Linked DNA regions of Homo sapiens: region 1 is linked to region 2. Evidence: promoter capture Hi-C in human tissues and cell types (Jung and others, 2019). All regions are on one chromosome and are shown on one strand. The core of a region is centred on a gene start or on the middle of the fragment in contact, and the rest is flanking DNA. Distances in the headings are between cores, read along the strand shown.

The links. Contacts are between HindIII fragments. The study calls those that stand out against the background at their distance.
Region 1: a fragment that was not itself captured here is called in contact with the fragment with the promoter of FAAH in region 2 in 1 of the 25 tissues and cell types used here (aorta).

The regions. Positions count from the first base shown.
Region 1 is chr1:46,698,709-46,703,896 of GRCh38, forward strand. All of the region lies in intron 3 of EFCAB14 (EF-hand calcium binding domain 14), which reads right to left. Among named protein-coding and RNA genes, the nearest start is that of EFCAB14, 18 kb to the right of the region's middle. The HindIII fragment of the contact is 3,701 bases long and covers 986-4,686 here.
Region 2 is chr1:46,392,639-46,398,128 of GRCh38, forward strand. FAAH (fatty acid amide hydrolase) reads left to right here and starts at 1,679. Exons shown (of 15, transcript NM_001441.3): 1 at 1,679-1,905. The coding sequence starts at 1,711. RefSeq lists an enhancer at 1,567-2,080. The HindIII fragment of the contact is 5,547 bases long and covers 1-3,783 here.

The DNA of each region.
Region 1 (5,188 bases), core at 1,586-4,085, 310 kb after region 2:
ATGTGTGTGTGTATGTGAGAGAGACAGAGAGACAAAGTAGGTGGTGAGGCCAGTTGTGCAGTAAAGTGCCAGAACAGACAGGACTCTGTAAACCAGAACAAGCACATGGGTTTTACTTGAGGTGTGATAGGCAGGGGTGTGTAAGCAGGATAATTACATGAATGGAGACACCTTGGAGGAAGACTACTATGGCTGTCAGTAGAAATGGAGAGACCAGTAAGAAGGAGATCTGTGTAGTCTCGGCAAGAGATAATGGTGGTTTAGACTTGAGTGGTAGTAGAGGTAGTAGCAGAAGTAGAGATGATACGATTTGCTGGGACTGGGTGTTAACAGTGGGGAAGATAGAAGAATTAAGGGAAACTCTTAGGTCTCTCACCTCAAGGAGCTTTCAATATAACTGAGAGACAAGGCAAGAGTACATTAAAGAAACAATTAAGCATTAAACGTGATACTGAATAAAGTTCTGAGAAAAGGATATCAATGCAAGCTGAAAGAAACAGGCTTCGCTGAAGGAGGACTCAAATTGGACTCTGACAGAGAAGTTAGAATTTTATACATAAAAACCAAGCAGGCATTCTTTCTAGGTTAGAAGGGTGAGGGTGGCATCGGGGGATAGGGAACACAGTATGAACAGGCTCAGGAGTACTTTCTTTTCATAGCACTTCTCAAAGTGACAATGATTTGTTTAGGTGGTTATTTGATTGAGGTTTCTCTCTTCCACAAGACTATAAGCTCCACATGATCAAGGACCATGTCTCTTTTACTTTCCACAATACCCGTGATACAAAGACTGGCATTTGTTGAATGAATGGCTGAGAATTAACACTCTGTGTCTGGGATGGACATTGAGAAGGCTAGTCTAAGCAGAGTAGAAGACAGAGGCCGGGGGGTAGGAGATAAGGCTAGATAAGTAGTGAATTTATTCTTTTCATCAGTAACTGGGTATAATAATAATAACAACAACAACTATTTAACAACTATCTTATAAGGATACGTGATGGTTTCAAAATATGTCTACAAATTCTTTGATAGTCTTCTTCCCTTCAAGAGGTGAAACCTACTTCCCCTTCCCTAGAGTGTAGCCTGACATAAGTAACTTGCTTCTACAGAAGAGAATAAAGTGGAAGTGACAACTGGCAACTTTAGAAATTAGGTCACAAAAGGTCCTATGCCTTCTTCTTTGCTCTCCTTGGATTAGTCACTCTGGGGAAGGGAGCTGCCATGCTGTGAGGACACTCGAGTAGCCCCAGAATGACAAGTCCATGTTGGGAGGAACTGAGGCCTCCTACCAAAAGCCATGTGAGTGAGGAACCTCCAGCCCCAGTCAGACCTCCAGGTTATAAAGACCCGGATGACATCTTAATTGCAACCTTAGAGATCTTGGCCAGAACCAGTCTGCTAAGCTGCTCCCAAATTCCTGACATATAGAAACCGTAAGATACTAAATGACTGTTGTTTTAGGCCACTAAGTTTTGGGGTAATTTGTAACCAAGGAACAGATGATCAATACAGGCTATGAGAATTAAATGAGACATATAATCAAAGCTCTTAGCATAGTACCTGGTACAGATGAAATATCAAATAAGTGACAGTTCTTTAATAGTGAAATTAATAAGCACTAAAACATGCAATTCTACATAAGGACTCCAGAATAACCAGACTAATCATCAACATTGTAACTCTGTTCATTTAAAAACAAGATGGGTGAGAAACCTCAGTCCACAGAGATACTCTCAGCAAACCATAAACTTCCTAAGAGAAGCAATTACATTAAGGAGGTTTTCACTCATGCCTTTAAAAAGATATGAATGATATCCAGGTTTGAAAAGGACATATAGAAACAGGCATTTTCATGCTCTGCTTATGGGAGTATAAATTAGAGAAGACTTGTAAGAAGTTTATCTAGGAATATCCATCAAAATTTGAAATGTTTATATTCTTTATTTTAGCAATTTCATGTCTAGAAATCTTATAAAATAGCTCATGTACATGATATATTTTTTAAAATAATTTTTCCTTATTTGTAACAGCAAAATACTAGAAACAATTTAAATGTATATCACTAAGAATGTGCATATATTCAGTGGAAAAGCAAGCTGCAGAACATATATTGAATGACCTTATTTATTTACAAACACACACGCATGTTAACCCATAGGCTAATTCATACTAAAAACTATTATGATTTTGTAAATAGAGAACTAGGAGGATGAAGCCCACATTACTGACTGGACACCTATGGGGGCATGAGAGAGAGAGAGAGAGAGAGAGTGAGTGAGTGTGTGTGTGTGTGTGTGTGTGTGCATGTGAGATGGGAACACAGAGATGGGAATTGAAGGAAAATTTTCATAGGATTTCTGTATGTGTTTTATAGTTTAAACCTTATATAAGAATCCACTCACAAATTACTTAAGAAATTTTTAAAAAGACAAAAGATGAGAAAGAAATACACACACAGGAAAAAGACGCCACATAACTTTGCAAAGGGTTTGATGGGTTTTCTTGGCTGACCCTTTCTTCCATGCCCTCACGGGGCTTTCTGAGACCACTGTAACATGCCCAATCATAAAATGCTAGGAAGGGTTCCTGCCCCAGGTATGTTTTCCTTAGTGCCCCAAAGTATGTACACAGTTGGTTCAAGATCAGTTTGAAGGGCAAGACTATAGTTATTCCTAATACTCTTATCAATTATGTAGTTACCTTTCAGCCACCTGAGGGGACAAACACCTTCCTCCACTGACAACTGGCCAGATCCTAAAGGAAGAAGCTGTTCTTTGGGTAAAAACTCTTCTTCCAGGTACTGAAAGTTCCAACCTCCTGAGGCTATGGCAGAGTGCATGGCTAATCAGAAGTATCTCGGGAATGGTAGTGGTCTCACAAAAAGCCAGTGTGACTGGTTGGCAGCTGCCGTTTCACCCAAAGTTAAGAAGCAGCTGAAAGCCAATGCCAGCAGGATCGAGTGAGGTGCTGCTGCACTTTTCTCTGTGCTGCAAACACTCTATGCCTAGTGTATCAGCTGCCTCACTGCAAAAGCATGCTCTGGAGAGCTGACCATTAACTTTCCAGGTACCAAACATCACTTAGGTCTTCTTACTCACTTATAAAACCTGGATCACCCACTGTTCCCTAGGACTTGGCTATTTAACCCATAAATTACAAAGCTGGATTCCGTCTTCTAGCATTTCTCTCTTCAGTAAAATAATGCCAACATCTGTGGAAAGCTATAGCAAAGCTTATATATGTAACTAAAATGGAGATGAGGCACCCTCCCATTACTTTCTCTGGAATTGCTCTGGCCTCTAACAGATGCATTCTAGAATGTCAGATCAGATTCAGGCATTAGAAAAGTCACACTTTGGAATTCAGAGTCTAAAAAGTTGAATTAAATAGAACCCATTAAGAAAAATCCATATTCCAGCCAAAAGATGAGTCATGACTTTTATGCATATTACATGACTTTTCATTAGAAAAATTAAAAATAGCTACAGTAGACCATTTGCTTAATACATCATTTTATACTATGAAGTTGGAAATGCTGCTTTTTTGCTTTGGGGTTGAAGTTAAGTGTCCTTTAAATAGTAAAGAAAAAGTTATTAAAACAGACAATCATCAATGATGAGTGATTATTAGTCCTAGCAGGGACTCAGCATCATATCCTTTCAGCTTTATCTACTGAGCACCTACTGAATCCTACAGGGGCTACCAAGATGTAACGCAGCATGGGAAGCTGGAAAGAAGAGAGGCTTCCAGGACTTGAATATTTTACTTTTAGTATTGCTACACAGCTGAGTGACTGTGGACAAGCTACTTAACTTCTTTGAACCTCAGTGTTCTTAACTGTAAAATGGAGAGAACACCTCCTACTTCATAGGACTGTAGAAGCCAAGAAAGGAGATCACATGTGCAGTGCACCTAATAATGGCTGGCACAAAGAAAGCATTTAATGAATGGCAGTTATCGTCAATACCATCATCGTTATCATCATCATTGCCATCGTTTTCTTTATCATCATGCTTAAGGCTTAGAGTACAGTGTACAACTTTCTAGTGCAATTAGAAGTATATGCAAATAAGCATCACATAAGGTATTTGGACTGAGTGCTAAAAGAGAGCTACACAGAGTACTATAGGAGAAGGGCACTCAAGGTCCTTCTTGATACGGCTCTTGCTGACTTACTTATCTCTGGCCTTTTTTACCAAACCATACTGTAGCTATAATGAGTGACTAAAATTCCCTGAACACACCATGTTTTCATTCATCTATACTTTTGCACATATAGTCAATTCTCATTATTAGTGGTAGTTATGTTCTAGAAAACTTGCAACAAAACATTCAATTAGTGAATATTGAACAACTGTTCCTTGGGGAAACACAGGTTAGGTTCCTGTGAGTCCTCTGCTCGTACTTTTTTTTTTTTTGAGACAGAGTCTTGCTCTTGTCGCCCAGGCTGGAGTGCAATGGCACGATCTCAGCTCACTGCAACCTCTGCCTCCCGGGTTCAAGTGATTCTCCTGCTTTAGCCTCCCAGGTAGCTGGGATTACAGGTGCTCGCCACCACGCCTGGCTAATTTTTGTATTTTTAGTAGAGACAAGGTTTCACCATGTTGGCCAGGCTGGTCTCGAACTCCTGACCTCGTGATCCACCCACCTCGGCCTCCCAAAGTGCTGGGATTATAGGCATAAGCCACTGTGCCCGGCCTGCTCAATTTTTTTAAACTGATCAATACAATACATAACCTTGTTGTATATGTATTTCTGTTTAAAGACATCTTATTTAATGCATATTGTTGACTCATTAGCATTGAACCCACAGCCAGCAGAACCATAACTCATGCCTGAAAGAAGCCTATCTAACACATGTATTTTTTCCATAGGGAACATCACAGTCTCCCTGCACTTTGGAACAATAGACAACACATTAGCACTATGGCTGAGGGACATTTTTGAACATGGAAATCACCAAAAACAGCACAAAAATATAAAAAATATGGCATTAAATATATTGTGAAAAAGACACTGTTTACAGTATGAGAGCTGAACCAAGAAGGCAGCATGTCACCTTGTTCAAACTCAGCTGTATATATGCATGCTGGGTGACTCAAATTCCTTGCTGCTCTGCATGTGTTGATGAATGACTGCAAAAGTGCCACAAGTATAGATTTTGAGATTACAAATAAATTTACCAAGT
Region 2 (5,490 bases), core at 429-2,928:
TTATGCTGCTGTTCTCCCCTCTCCTTCCCCTTCCCCTAGGGAAGGGACCGTCAGGAGTGCAGCTACTTTTTCTTCCCCGAGAAGAAAGGAAAGGGGAATTCTGAATATTTTTCTTACTACCGGAGGTTTGTGTGAGGTTTTTGATCCCCTGAAATTTGTGGAAGGCTCAACACCTCAAACCAGGGGGTATCTTGCCTTGCCTGACCTGGAAGGCTCAACCCCTCAAACCAGGGGGTGTTTTGCCTTGCTGCCCTGGAAGGCTCAATCCCTCAAACTAGGAGGTGTCTTGCCTTGCTTCCCTGGAAGGTTGACCTGTTTCCTCCCTTTCCCCCTCTGAAGGTCCTTTGCACACTTCCCACTCGTGTTGTCCTCTCTGGCTGCTCCCCCAAGGGAGAATTAGGCCCCCCTCAGCATTGGCATTCCAGTAGAAATCCCACCGCAGGATCCTCCCTAAGCCATATGAGGTAGCTACGGAAACGTGGAGAGGACCCACTCACTCCGTCCAGCAGTAGGACTTGTCATCATCCACACGAACAACACCACAGGTAGGGTTGTTTGTGATCATTCACGCACACACACATTTAGCCCTCCAGAATTTGACCACCAAGGAAGTACCTTACCGGCTCCCTCGGCTTCTTCCTTTGTCTGTGCACAGAGTTGTCTCTGCAGTGTGTGAGGATGCTTTACCCTAGGTTGCCTGCTGGTTTCTTTTCACATTGCTGAGAGCTCAGGTTATTTCTTGCACTGGGTGAGTCCTGATTTCTCACCCCTGAGGCCATCACAAGAGGGTGGGGCATACCTCCTCAGGAGAGAGAACCAGAGACTGCCCCTGAAGGGGAATGTAATCACGAGCAAGCCCCCAAATTGTTATAAATAAAGTTTCCCCCCAGTGCCGCAAAAGAAATAGCACTCGAATATAAAATTTTCTTTTTTTTCTTCTCAGCAAGGCAATTTACTTCTATAGAAGGGTGCGCCCTCACAGACGGAGCAAAGGTGAGCGCACACCTGGACAAGGGAGGGGAAGGTGGTTCTTATGCCTGACCCACGTGATTCCTGATGCTGTGTCCTTCCCCTGTTGGCTAGGGTTAGACCTATAGGCTAAACTAATTCCGATTGGCTAATTTAAAGACAGTGAGGGGGTGAGTGGTTTGGCGGGAAAAATGGTTACCGCAGAGCAGGAAATCGGAATGAACCACGGTGAAGAATGAGTGAGGGAGGAGCAGGTAATCGAAAAATGTTGCTTTATGAGGAAGTTAAGTTTAAAAGTAGAAGGCAAAGAATTGAAGATACTGACATATTGATTCTTTTAAGATAAATTTAGAACTCATATCTAACAGCTGGCATGTCTGGCATGGGGCTCCGGCTGGGGCGCAGTCTTCAGCATTTGGGGCTCTGGGGTGCAGGGGGCAGAGGACGGCCGGGGCTGTGGTGCCCAACCGGTGCTAAACTCAAGCTTGGGAGGTCGCCCACGAGAAACAGTCGCCCTTCCCCACCCGCCTGCTCGGCTTGGCGGGGAGCGGGATGTCGCTGGGGGCGATGCCAGGCGGGCCGCCTCTGATAGCCTCTAGGCTCTGGCGCGCTTCCCCGCCCCTCCCGCGCAGGCGGGCGTGGGATCCCGGCTGATCCAGTCCGGGTTTTGCGGCGGAGCGGGCGGGCTGCGCGTGCGGCGGCTTCAACTGTCGCGGTAGGCAGCAGCAGGCTGAAGGGATCATGGTGCAGTACGAGCTGTGGGCCGCGCTGCCTGGCGCCTCCGGGGTCGCCCTGGCCTGCTGCTTCGTGGCGGCGGCCGTGGCCCTGCGCTGGTCCGGGCGCCGGACGGCGCGGGGCGCGGTGGTCCGGGCGCGACAGAGGCAGCGAGCGGGCCTGGAGAACATGGACAGGGCGGCGCAGCGCTTCCGGCTCCAGGTGACTGCCGGAGCGTAGTGGGATGGGCGCGGCCTGAGGGTACTCGCAGCGGCACTTTCAGCCGCCGGACCCGCCGAGGGACAGGGGATGGGGCGGGCAGAGCAGATGTGTAACTCTCCAGAATCTCTCCTTGCCCTAAGATATTCCGCACTTTCTGAGCCAGGTAGAGCACGGGGGAAGAAAGGAAACGGTAGTGTCAAGGCAGGTGGTGGAAGGCCTTTCCCTCACTGGGTCAAAGAGGAGTTTTGCTTTGTGCCAAAGAATCTCACGATTGCTGCCTATTGGAATGCGAAAACGCAAGCGTGACAACCAGTGGGATGCCAGGGGTTGAGGACTTTGGAATCGCAGAGTGTAATGGCCAAGGGGATCTGGAGAGCTTAGAGTTTTGTTTTTTGTTTTTTTTTGTTTTGTTTTGAGACGGAGTCTCGCTCTGACTCCCAGGCAAGAGTGCAGTGGTGCGATCTCGGCTCACTGCAACCTCCGCCTCCCGGGTGCAAGCGATTCTTGCTGCCTCAGCATCCCCAGTAGCTGGGATTACAGGGGCCCGCCACTACGCCTGGCTAATTTTTGCATTTTTAGTAGAGACTGGGTTTCACCATGTTGGCCAGGCTGATCTCAAACGCCTGACCTCAGTTGATACACCTGCCTCGGCCTCCCAAAGTGCTGGGCGTGAGCCACCGCGCCTGGCTGAGTTCAAGCTTCTTGATTTGTGCATTTGGATCCTAAGAGGGAGCCAGAAAGAAACCTGCCAAGTGCACAGGGAGATCTTGGCAAAGCCAGGCTAGAAGGGAAGTCTCTCTGGCTCCTGCTGTGGTGTCCAACCCCTGGCAAGCCCTTTCCATGAGCAGGTTTAGTTCCAGCCCTCCGTGGGTGGTCTGTCAACAAGCTTTTCTCCCTGCGCTGCCTTTGGATCACCTCAGTATGTGGGTTTGGAGGCGTGGAAGGGCCTGGCTGAGGGTTTGGAAGATGTGGCTTGAAGAGGGGCTTTTCCTCTGGGTGTGTGAAACACTGACCCCAGTTAAAGCCTTCTTATGTGCTGAGAGAGGGAGGGCTTGCTGTATCTGTGGGACCTGACAGGTGGGAAGGCTTTACAGGTTGGGAACCGCAGGACTCAGGAGGGTGTGCCTGGGTGGGAGACAGAAAGAGTCACAGAAAATTGTGTTCAGCAGATGTTCCGCAAGTGATTTTTGAGTTGGGGCAGAGCTGGAACTAGAACCTAGGTGCCCGCTGCACTCTGCAGCCACACTTTCGTGGAGAGGAACAGGAGAGAGATATGAGGAAGGCACCTTGCATGCCAGCCCAGGGTGTAGCCCTGCATGTTGAAGGGGGCCAGCCCCTCCACACCTGTGGGTATTTCTCCTCAGGTGGGACAAGAGACTGAGAAAAGAAATAAGACACAGAGACAAAGTATAGAGAAAGAACAGTGGGCCCAGGGGACCACCGCTCAGTATAGGGAGGACCCGCGCCAGCACTGGTCTCTGAGTTCCGTCAGTATTTATTGATCACTATCTCTACCATCTCGGTGAGGGGGATGTGGCAGGACTATAGGGTAATGGTGGGGAAAGGGTCAACAGGAAAACATGTGAGCAAAGGACTCTGTGTCATAAGTTTAAGGAAAGGTGCTGTGCCTTGATGTGTATGTAGGCCAGATTTATGTTTGACTTTATACAAGCATCTCAGTGCAGTAAACAACAGTATTGTCACCAGCATGTCTCACCTCCAGCCATAAGGTGGTTTTCTCCTATCTCAGTAAATAGAACGTAGGATCGGGTTTTACACTGACACATTCCATTCCCAGGGACGAGCAGGAGATAGATGCCTTCCTCTTATCTCAACTGCAAAGAGGCCTTCCTCTTTCACTGATCCTCCTCAGCACAGACCCTTTACGGGTATCGGGCTGAGGTATGGTCAGGTCTTTCCCTTCCCACAAGGCCGTATCTCAGGCTGTCTCAGTGGGGAGAAACCTTGGAGAATACCCAGGCTTTCTTGGGCAGAGGTGCCTGCAGCCTTCCGCAGTGCATTGTGCCCCTGGGTACTCAAGACGGGAGAATGGCGATGACTTTTTGCCAAGCATACTGCCTGCAAACACATTTTTAACAAAGCACATCCTGCACAGCCCTAATTAAACCTTGAGTCAACACAGCACATGTTTCTGCGAGCATAGGGTTGGGGCTAGGTTTACAGATTACCAGCATCTCAAGGCAGAAGAATTTCTCTTAGTACAGAACAAAATGGAATTTCTTATGTCTACTTCTTTTTACATAGACACAGTAACAGTCTGATCTCTCTTTTCCCCACACATGTGTTGCGGTTTTGGCTGGCTGTAATGTATGAATTTACTCCAAACCATCCCTGGGGCCAAGATATCTCATATTTATTTAGTAAGATAAAAAATATATCTGGTTCCAGCCTCCACTCACCAAGCTGGCTGAAAAGTCCACCATCAGTCAGTTTTTAGGGTTTCTTCCTTCCAGAGTGAGAGGGCCCTGGTGGTCAACCCAAATTGGCCATCTCCCCTACACAAGCACAGGTTCTTCACTGTCTAGTTGCCCTCTCTGGCTGGGCGCTGGAGGTCCTCCTTAGAGATCCTCCTGTTTATCCCTGGCTCTGTGCAGCCAGCTGAGTTCTGCCAGCTCCAAGAGCAGCGTGGGCAGCACTAGCAGGGATCTGCTCACAGCTCTTGCCTGCAGAACTCCCCTCCTGGTTGCAAGGAATCCACCTGGCTGGCAGGGGTGTGGGATGGTAGCAGGATGGGTCTTCCTGCACTTCGGCTCCAAACAGCAGCATCTATATGGTTTTCCTCTGGAGCAACTGCTCTTCATTATTTTTACGAACAGATTATTCCAGGACAGAAGTTTTGGCTCTGAAAGCTTGGCTCTTTCAGGAGGAGAAGCGGGAAATTACCTTTCAGGTTTCCAGTGATTGTGGTTTTGAGTAATCAGCAAAGGGGTGGGGTCCTGATTGACAATAGCTTTGTAGGCTTTGCGGGGGAGTAGGATTTTTTTTTGGTTTTTGTTATTTTTGTTTTTTGTTTTTGAGACGGAGTCTTGCTCTGTCGCCCAGGCTGGAGTGCAATGGTGCGATCTCGGCTTACTGCAACCTCTGCCTCCCAGGTTCAAGCGATTCTCCTGCCTCAGCCTCCCGAGTAGCTGGGATTACAGGCGCCTGCCACCATGCCTGGCTAATTTTTGCATTTTTAGTAGAGACGGGGCTTCACCATGTTGGCCATGGCTGGCCTCGACCTCCCGACCTCAGGTGATCCGCCCGCCTCGGCCTCCCAAAGTGCTGGGATTATAGGCATGAGCCACCGCGCCTGGCCAATGCCTGGCTAATTTCTGTAGTTTTAGTATAAACGGTTTCGTCATGTTGGCCAGGCTAGTCTTGAACTCTTTTTTTTTTTTTTTTTTTGAGATGAAGTCTCACTTTGTTGCCCCAGCTGGAGTGCACTGGTGCAATCTCGGCTCACTGCAACCTCCACCTCCCGGGTTCAAGCAATTCTCCTGCCTCAGCCTCCCTAGTAGCTGGGGTTACAGGTGCCTGCCACCATGCCCGGCTAATTTTTGTATTTTTTAGTAGAGATGGGAT